2 separate regions of the Homo sapiens genome follow, and region 2 is linked to region 1. The links are contacts of gene promoters, found by promoter capture Hi-C in human tissues and cell types (Jung and others, 2019). All regions are on one chromosome and are shown on one strand. The core of a region is centred on a gene start or on the middle of the fragment in contact, and the rest is flanking DNA. Distances in the headings are between cores, read along the strand shown. Region 1 holds the start of P2RY1 (purinergic receptor P2Y1). Region 2 has its middle 270 kb from the start of MBNL1-AS1.

Region 1 (5,165 bases), core at 2,089-4,588:
CTTTATGAGGGATAGCTTCCAAAACTAAAAATTCCTTTGACACTGGATTTGTTTGGGATTGTCAATTGCATTATCTCACCTTGTTATTCTCATTATATAGAATTTGACCATTTCAAGGACTAGACATGCAGCAATTCAATATTCATTAAAATTATTAACACTGTTGAAGCATTTTACAAATTTTTCATTAACACCTGGCAGAGAACAAATATAATAGAAAACACTGACCAATAGTCTTCTATTAGTAGTTTGAGTAGTACTTTACTTTTCAGTGCTATGGCATCTAGGTACTTTAATTCTCTATATTTCCCTCCATATATATGTTTTTTCTTTAAATATTGAGATGTAAGGTTTATTCAAAGATTATAGCTTCCCATTCTATCAATGCAACCTATACAAATTCTATTTCTTCTTTTCATATCGCATTTTGTGTTTTCAAACACTTGGAGGAAGCAAGAGTCTTCTCCACCATGACTTTAATTTAAACTAAAGCCCTCATTCTAAAATGTCTTCTGCCCACCCCAGTTGCTTCATACATTTGAGAGTATACTTGGAGGCTATGCCTTGTGGATGACTGTCAACCTCTCCTTTTCTGAAATACTGTCCTCCTGTCCAATATCCTTCAACTTACTAACAGTTATTTGACTTTACTCAATCTTTGGTCTGTAATTTATTTGCAATTCTTAAAATTGTTTTTACAGATGTGAGTGAACACTTGTCCTGGAACACAAACAAAGTCCTAAGGCATTGCACAGCAGTGGGGCAAGTAAATGCTCTTTATCACAAGATGTCTAAGAGAGCTCATGGTGTTTACAAGGAAAATACATGCACTTTAATTATTTTGAATGCATTTTACCAGTACGATAATATATGCAGGCTTTCCCCATCAAACATTTAGCACCCAATATATAATGAGACCTTTTCCAGAAATAACTGGAAAACAATCACTTTTCAGGCTTTTAAATTCATTAGCTTTACTTGTCTATTCAATGCCCTAAAGAAACTCAGTCAACTATCATCTATGCTTATAAGACACTGAAAAAAACACCCCGCTCAGAGATCCATTGATCTGATGCCGGATGAACTGATGAGTTTAGTGTTTTGTTATATACCATGCTAGATATTTCTGAGAATATAGATTTTTTATTCCTACTGTGGATTTTAAAAAAACAATAAAGGCTAGATAAACCACAAACTCAAGTTGCAGGGGGCTAGTTTTCTTAGAGAAATTACTAATATCAAAAACAGCCCCAGTACTCATGTGCACACACACTTTAAACAGAAAAGCCTGCACATTTTAAAGGCAAAAGAGAAAGTAAATGTTTAACTAGGTAGTATTGTTTTATTATACATACTTCTAGTCAGAAGGAAGAGAGACTGTGAAAGCAAACCCAAACAAGCTAAGTGTGGATGTGGGCATTTCTACTTCTATTATTTTTTTAACTCACTATTTTCTTGGTTTGATTTTTTTCTAAACTAGAAAGTTAAAGAGGGGAAAAGTACTTGATTCTGTTAAGCATCCTACCATATTACAACAGAGAGGTGTTTGGAGATTCTTGTGCCTTCACAGGCTTGTATCTCCATTCTGCTTGAACTCAGGTAAAATATTGAGGGTCATGTCTTCACTCTTGGATTGCAAATTTGCCTCACTTCTTCTAGAAGCTTTCCTTGTGGCTCGGGAGAGTCTCCTTCTGAAAGTATCTCCCGCCAAGAAATAGAGAATGGGGTCCACACAACTGTTGAGACTTGCTAGACCTCTTGTCACCTGATACGTGGCATAAACCCTGTCATTGAAAGCACACATTGCTGGGGTCTGAAAATCAAGCCGGGCCCTCAAGTTCATCGTTTTCATCACATGGAAAGGGATGTAAGACACAGCAAAAACAGTCAGTACAATGATTACCAGGTAAATCGATTTTCTCCTCAGAGGAGAGTTGTCCAGATCTTTGTAAATCAAAGCTCTCACAATTAATCCGTAACAGCCCAGAATCAGCACCAAGGGGACACAGAACATGGCCACGGTCGTGCACATGCTGTAGATGAAATAACTTCGCAGGTACTCGTCTGAGGTGGTGTCGTAACAGGTGATGGTTTTGTTTTTGCGGACCCCGGTACCTGAGTAGAAGAGGATGGGGGAGATCGCCACCACCACAATGAGCCACACCAGCACGCTGATACAGATCGCATTCTTCTTTTTGAGCCGGCCCAGGGACTTGAGGGGGTACACCACACCGCTGTACCGGTGGGCACTGATGCATGTCAGAAACAAGATGCTGCCATAGAGGTTCACATGAAAGATGAACCTCTGCAGTTTACACATGGCATCCCCGAAGATCCAGTCTGTTTTATTGAAGTAGTAGAAGATCAGGGCTGGCAGAGTCAGCACGTACAAGAAGTCGGCCAGAGCCAAATTGAACATGTACACGGAGATGCCGCTCCAGGGCTTCATGTGGAAGACGAACATCCAGATGGCCACGCTGTTGCCCAGGAAGCCGATGATGAATACCAAGATGTAGACAGCCGGCAGGTAGTAAAACTGGAAGCCCGTCTTGGTCAAGGCGCATTTGAACGACGAGGAGACGGCGGCAGTGGAGGCGACCGTGCTGTTCCCCCAGGACGAACCCGGACCGGCCAGGAAGGCAGCGTCCGTCCCGTTGGGGACAGCCGGCCACAGCACCTCGGTCATTCTCTCCTCCTCGACTTAGGCGGCGGCTCCGAGGGGTAGGAGGCGGCGAGAGGGCAGCGGCGGCCAGGGGCGCAGCAAGCATCGGAAAAGCCAGCGAGCGGAAGGGAGCAGGCGAACTGGATCCCCGCGGGAGGGGGCGCGCAGGGGCTCGCCCACGCCAGCTCTGGCCCCGCGTTCGCCGCGGGCCATGAAATCCGCCCCGGGCCGCCACCGAACTGGGCTATCGGGCAAGCCAGCAACTTCTCCGTCCGCTGGCAACGCCGAGCTTACACAACAGGGCGCGCAGGGAACCGCCGCGGATAACTTTCCGACTGCGCTTTCCCGAGGGGCCGCGGGTCCGCGCTGCAGAGCGCGCCAGAGGCGCAGCGAGGTCAAGGGAAACTCGCTCTGCAGGGCTCTAGCTTGGGGAGGCTGCTCCCCAGCCTCCTTGGCTCAAAGATCAACTTAATTGGGGGCATCTTCCTCCTCCCTACCTTAGAAACGTGCAGCTCAGTTTCGGGGCGTCTAACCGCTTCCTCCGCCCACCCTGAGCTCAGCTCCTGGCAGCCATCGGAGCGCGCGTGGCCGCAGACTCGTGCGCTTCTGCAGCGCGTCCCGTTCGGCGTCCGCGTAGTTCAGGAACCCCTTCCCCAGGCCCAGCTCTGTCCGGAGTGCCGGGGTTAGGCGGGAGAGCGGAGCTCCCTAGAGGGTGGGCGGAGTTTGGGCACCGGGGCGAGTCCGCACTCCGCGGGGAGGCGAGGGGCGTGCCTCCGCCGAGCTCGCCCAGCAGCCAGCCCGCGTCCTCCAGGGCGCAGTGGGAAGCAGGAGGCGTCTTCTGGGGAGCAGGTCTCCGCCGAGGCCGAGTGTGTTCAGCCTCTGCCGGCACGCTGCTACCGGAGTCGGCGGCGAGGGAGAGGGGTGCGCTCCAAGGTGGCTGCTGGCAGGCGATTGGCCCGCGAGCGCTCCTTCCCTCTTCCGCCAGCTATCTCGGCAAAGTGAAGTTGCTGACACACAGGAAACCCTTCCGACCGCTTAGAGCCTTCTGCCTACAACCCCAGAGCCGACCAGTCCGTAGCAGGAGCCTCTAGGGCCCTCGAGAACCACGCCAGGTGTTTTCAAGCTCCAAGCAGCCAGGAGTCCCTAGCTGGGAACGCCTGTCATTGCAGAGCGTCTAGCTTTGCCGGGACCGGATTTCTGGCACATGCAGGAACCTGCTATTCCAAGAGGGCGCGAGCCTCCAAAGGAATGAGGGTTGGGAGAGGAGTGGAGAACTCTGTTTCGCCCTTCTTACCTTTTTTTTTCTTTTTTTTAAATTCTAGTACTGTTTTTTCTTAATTACCCAAATGCTAATAAACCCACGTCATTAATAACATCAACGTGAGAATTTCCAAAATAGTCTTGTGAAGATATTACTAGTCCATATTGCACATTGCTTCAGCTCAAATTTGTCGTCATAGATACTTAACACCTATCAGACAAGACAAGCTCCCCAAATCCTCCTGTTCAGTACATTTAAAGATCAGAAGCTACAATGAAAAAAAAAAATTCGAAATTTATCCCTTTGAAAGTAATTTGAATGCCAAATGCAATACATTTATATTGATAGACGTAAAAGACGGTTATAATTCCAAAGTGACTAAGGTATGGTTTTGGTAGGGGGTGGCGGGGGGAGGGGGGTATTTCCAATTCTATTTCTTTAAGTTAAAGTGATTAGTTACAATTACCTCTAGTATCTTAAAAATACAGACTTGGGACTTCCTTAATTACTACATTTACTGACAAACTCGTTTTCTTGCCTTGAATGTAAATTTTAAGCAATGCACTTCAAAAATGTATTTGAGCAAGTTTAATTGGAAACTAAATGAAATATTAGCTGTTCAGGAACATATATAAATGGACCCGCACAAGAATGGAATCTAGCACTTCTTGACAAGTTACTAGTTAATGTATTTTTACATGACACATTAACAAAAGCTTTTCTCTTAGAGGAAAAAAAATCCAAAAAGAAAATATCTGTAAAATATATAACATCAAGATTTCTTTCTGGTCCCAGATGCTACATGATAGTGTTCCCTTAAAAAATAAAGGAAAACCACGAGCTCCTGGCTTTGATACCACAAAGGAAAATATCCCCCACAAGATCCAGATGGTTCTTTAGAGGAACACATATAGGAAGGAGCATATCTTAGCACATGGTATGAATACACTGGGTTTTGAATTGTAGTCAATTGAACAGCATAAAAATTAATAATAAAACAAGAGTAAATAATTCAAGTAAACAGTGTGAATGAGGTTGTCTTGAAAAGTCTTACTTTTTGTGTTTCCTTCCAATCTCCTGATTATATGAGTCTATGATTCTGAGCCTTAACATGAAACATTTGTGTATTGTTTGATTAGTATGGTCCTAGGTGGGATGATTGTCTATTAAGAGAGAAAAGGAAGCAAAGAAAACCATTAAGGGTTCCAGGGGTACTCAATAGGTCTTAAGTCCTCACTCCTT
Region 2 (4,813 bases), core at 1,915-4,414, 300 kb after region 1:
GTGCCTGTCAGCACCTTACCCCCAAGCCACCACCATCTCCAGAATGACTATGCACAGTTGCCAGCAGCCCATCCCCATCAGGTGCATTGCCTCCACCACTGTGGTGAATGCCTGCAGGGAGGCAGGCACCCCAGCACCCACAAGCGCTCTGCCATACCTGCCACTACAAGGACGGATCCCACTGTCACCACACTATGAAATGCTTTGGCTGATACCACTCATCAGAGTATAAGAACCAGTGGTCTGGGAGCACTTAGCCACCTCCAACACTGTGGATTCCTAACCTCAAGAAGCCAGAGAACAAAGTCAGGTCCCGATACAAGTCCCCTGGAGCTACAGCATGCAGTCTAGGATTTGGGAACTGAGTGTTGCCCCACTAAAATCTCCCAGAAATGAAGTCAGTTGGCTGAATCCACCTTATACCACAATTAGACTCTGAAGGTCATCAAATAGGATAAAAGAATAAAAATCCTAAGGTCAGCAACCTCAAAGATTGAAGGTAGCTAAGCCCACAAAGTTGAGAAGGAATCAGCACAAGCACCCTGACAATTCAAAAGGCCACAGTGCCTCCTTTCCTCCAAATGACTGTGTCACCTCTCCAGCAAAGGTTCTGAACAGGGCTGAGATGGCTGAAATGACAGAAATAGAATTCAAAATATGGATAGGAATGAAGATCATTGAGATGCAAGAGTACCAAATGTTGATACCCAATCCAACAAAGCTAAAAATTGTAAAACAATGCAGGAACTGAGAGACAAGATGGCCATATAGGAAAGAACATAAGTGACCTGATAGAGCTTAAAAACACACTACAAGAGTTTCATAATGAAATCATAATTATTGACAGCAGAATAGATCAAGCAGAGGAAAGAATCTCAGAGCTTGAAGCTTGGCTTTCTGAAATAAGACAGTCGGAAAGGAATAGAGGAAAAAATGAGAAGGACTAGACAAAACCTCCAAGCAATACGGGGTTATGTAAAGAGACAAAATCTGTGACTCACTGTTGTCCCTGAAAGAGATGAGGAGAATGGAACCAATTTGGAAAACGTATTTCAGGATAGCATCCCTGAGAACTTCCCCAACCTAGCTAGCGAGGCCAACATTCAAATTCGGGAAATGCCAACAACCTCAGTAAGATGCTTCACAAGAAGAACATCCCCAAGACACATAATCATCAGATTCTCCAAGATTGAAATAAAAGAAAAAAATGTTAAAAGCAGCTAGACAGAAGGGTTAGGTTATCTACCAAGGGAAGCCCATCAGACTAACAAGTGAACCACTTAGGAGAAACCCTACCAGCCAGAAGAGATTGAGGGCCAATATTCAACATTCTTAAGGAAAAGAAATTGCAACCTAGAATTTCATTTCTGGCCAAACTAAGCTTCATAAGTAAGGAAAAATAAGATCCTTTTCAGACAAGCAAATACTAAAGGAATTCACTACCACCTGACCTGCCTTACAAGAGCTGAAAGAAGCACTAAACATGGAAGGAAAAGATGTACCAGCCACTACCATAACACACTGAAATTCACAGACCAGTAACACTATGAAGCAACCACATATACGAGTCTGCAAAATAGCCAGCTAACATCATGATGACAGGATCAGATTCACACATATCAATACTAACCTTGAATGTAAATGGGCTAAATGACCCAATTAAAAGACACAGAGTGGAAAGTTGGATAATGAAGACCCACTGGTATGCTGTCTTCGAGAGATTCATCTCACATAGGCTCAAAATAAAGGGATGGAGAAAAATCTACCAAGCAAATGGATAATAGAAAAAAAGCAGGGGTTGCAATCCTAGTTTCAGACAAAATAGACTTTAAACCAACAAAGATCAAATAAGGCAAAGTGCATTACATAATGGTAAAGGGTTCAATTCAACAAGATGATCTATCATAAATACATATTCACCCAACACAGGAGCACCCAAATTCATAAAGAAAGTTCTTAGAGACCTTCAAAGAGATTTAGACTCCCACATAATGGCAGTGGGAGAATTTAACATCCCACTGACAATATTAGATAGAGTATCAAGACAGAAAATTAGTGAAGATATTCAGCACCTAAACTCAGCACTGGATCAAGTGGACCTGATAGACATCTACAGTACTCACCACTCAAAAACAATAGAATATACATTTTTCCCATTGCCACGTGGCACATATCCTAAAATATATCCCTGAAAAGAAATACGCAGCCTAGTTATAATATGGATTCATTGATCTTTTGAATGGTTTTTCATGTATCACATAATCAGAAGAAAACACTCCTCAGAAAATACAAAATAACTGAAAGATAACAAACAATCTCATGGGCCACAGCACAATGAATTCACTCAAAACCATACAATTACATGGAAATTGAATAACCTGCTCCTGAATGACTTTTAGATAAATAACAAAATTAAGGTAGAAGTCAGGAAGTTCTCTGAAACTAATGAGGACAAAGATAAGGCATACCAGAATCTCTGGGATACAGTTAAGGAAGTGTTCAGAGGGAAATTCATAGCAATAATGCCCACATTAAAAAGTTAGAAAGATCTCAAACTAACAACGTAAAATTGCAACTGAAAGAATTTAGAGAAACAAGAAAAAATCAACTCCAAAGCTAGCAGAAAAAAGAAATAACCAAAATCAGAGCTGAACTGAAGGAGACTGAACACGAAAAACTATTCAAAAGATCAATGAATCCATATTATAACTAGGCTGTGTATTTCTTTTCAGGGATTTTTCTACCTTCAGGGTTAGATATAGTTTAGTTACTATTACCATAGTCCACCCATAGTTTTACATATACAATTTCTTGTAGAAAAATAGATTTTTCCATTTTACAAAAGCATTTTAAATGTAGTTTGAATATTTTCCACAAGATGCTGCAATAGGTGTTATCACTTCATTTATCTTAAAGACAAAGCTAGTTGTCAGTTACATATGACAGGAAAAAAAAAACCACTGTGTAACTAGGTTAAGTGGTAAAATAATCCAGGTATCAGTCAAAGGCGTTTTGCTGACTTTAATATTTTTTAACAGGAATTTAAGAAAATGTTACTGGAATTAAATATCTATATAAATTTATATATAAATAAATATATATTTTGTGTGTGTATATATATATATATACACACACAAGAATTTTCTTTGCTCTGTGTAGCTTAAACTACTACTCAAGCCCCTGAAGTTCTTAAGTATTATTTCTAATCACCAATAAATAAATGTATTTGTAATTCATCAGTTTAAGTTATTATTAGCTTTCATTCAAAGAAGATTACATTTAACAATGTAACTATAATCTCTCTTGAATTTGGTATCTTATTAATGAGTTGTAAAAAATGTAAAATCTAATTTTTTTAAAGTTCCATTTTCTTTTGTTTTTAGAGACTTTCTTATCCGTAAACATATATCTTACATATAATAAACTTTTCAAATCTTGTAAAAAAATCAACAAATCAGGAGCTGTTTCTTTGAAAAAATAGTAAAATACATAGATTGCTAGCTAGGCTAATAAAGAACAACAGAGAGAAGATTCAAATAAACACAGTCAAAAATGACAAGATATTACCAATCACCCCACAGAAATACAACCATTGGGGAATATTATGAACACTTCTATGCACATAAACTAGAAACTCTAGAAGAAATGGATAAATTCCTGGACACATGCATTCTCCCAAGACTGAACAAGGAAGAAGCTGAATCCCTGAGCAGACCAATAATGAGCTCTGAAATTGATCAGTAGTAAATAGCCTACCAACCAAAAAAGGCCCAGAACCAGATGGAGTCATAGCTGAATTCTACCAGATGTACAAAGAAGAGCTGGTACCATTCCTGCTGAAACTATTCCAAAAAAATTGAGGAAGAGGGATTCCTCCCTTACTCATTCTATGAGGCCAGTATCATCCTGATACCAAAACCTGACAGAGACACAACATAAAAAGAAAGCTTCAGGCCAATATCTTTGGTGAACATCAATGCAAAAATTGTCAAAAAACACTTGCAAATTGAATCCAGCAGCATATCAAAAATTTTATCCACCACAATCAAGTAGGATTTATCCCTGAGATGCAAGGTTGGTTTGACATATGCAAATCAGTAAATGTAATTCATCACACTAAAGACAAAAACCACATGATTATCTCAATAGATGCAGAAAAGGCTTTTGATCATATTCAACACCTTTCATGTTAAAAACTTTCAATAAACTAGGTGTTGAAGGAACATACCTCAAAATAATAAGAGCCATCTATAACGAACCCACAGCCCACATCATACTAAATGGGCAAAAGCTAGGACCATTCCCCTTGAAAACTGGCACAAGGCAAGAATGCCCTCTCTCAGCACTCCTATTCAACATAGTATTGGAAGTCCTGGCCAGGGCAATGAGGCAAGAGAAGGAAATAAATGGCATCCAAATGGGAAGGGAGGAAGTCAACTATCTCTATTTGCAGATGACGTGATCCTGTATCTAGAAAACTCCATAGTCTCAGCCCAAAAGCTCCTCCTTCAGCTGATAAACAAGTTCAGCAAAGTTTCAGGATACAAAATCAATGTACAAAAAATCACTAGCATTCCTAACAACCAGCAACAGCCAAGCCAAGTGCCAAATCAGAAAGGCAATTTCATGTACAACTGCCACAAAAAGAATAAAATACCTAGGAATACAGCTAACCAGGGAGGTGAAAGAGCTCTACAAGGAGAACTACAAAATGCTGCCAAATGAATCAGAGATGACACAAACAAATGGAAAAACATTTCATGCTAATGGATAGGAAGAATCAATATCATTATGGCCATACTGTCCAAAGCAA

Evidence for each region. The method cuts DNA at HindIII sites, captures the fragments that hold promoters and counts their contacts. A contact is called where the count stands out against the background at its distance.
Region 2: a fragment that was not itself captured here is called in contact with the fragment with the promoter of P2RY1 in region 1 in 1 of the 25 tissues and cell types used here (heart right ventricle).

The regions. Positions count from the first base shown.
Region 1 is chr3:152,833,304-152,838,468 of GRCh38, reverse strand. P2RY1 (purinergic receptor P2Y1) reads right to left here and starts at 3,338. Exons shown (of 1, transcript NM_002563.5): 1 at 1-3,338. The coding sequence starts at 2,686. The coding sequence ends at 1,565. RefSeq lists silencers at 2,375-2,669, 3,382-3,431 and an enhancer at 3,102-3,201. The HindIII fragment of the contact is 5,667 bases long and covers 63-5,165 here.
Region 2 is chr3:152,532,689-152,537,501 of GRCh38, reverse strand. No RefSeq gene overlaps it. Among named protein-coding and RNA genes, the nearest start is that of MBNL1-AS1, 270 kb to the right of the region's middle. The HindIII fragment of the contact is 4,058 bases long and covers 1,136-4,813 here.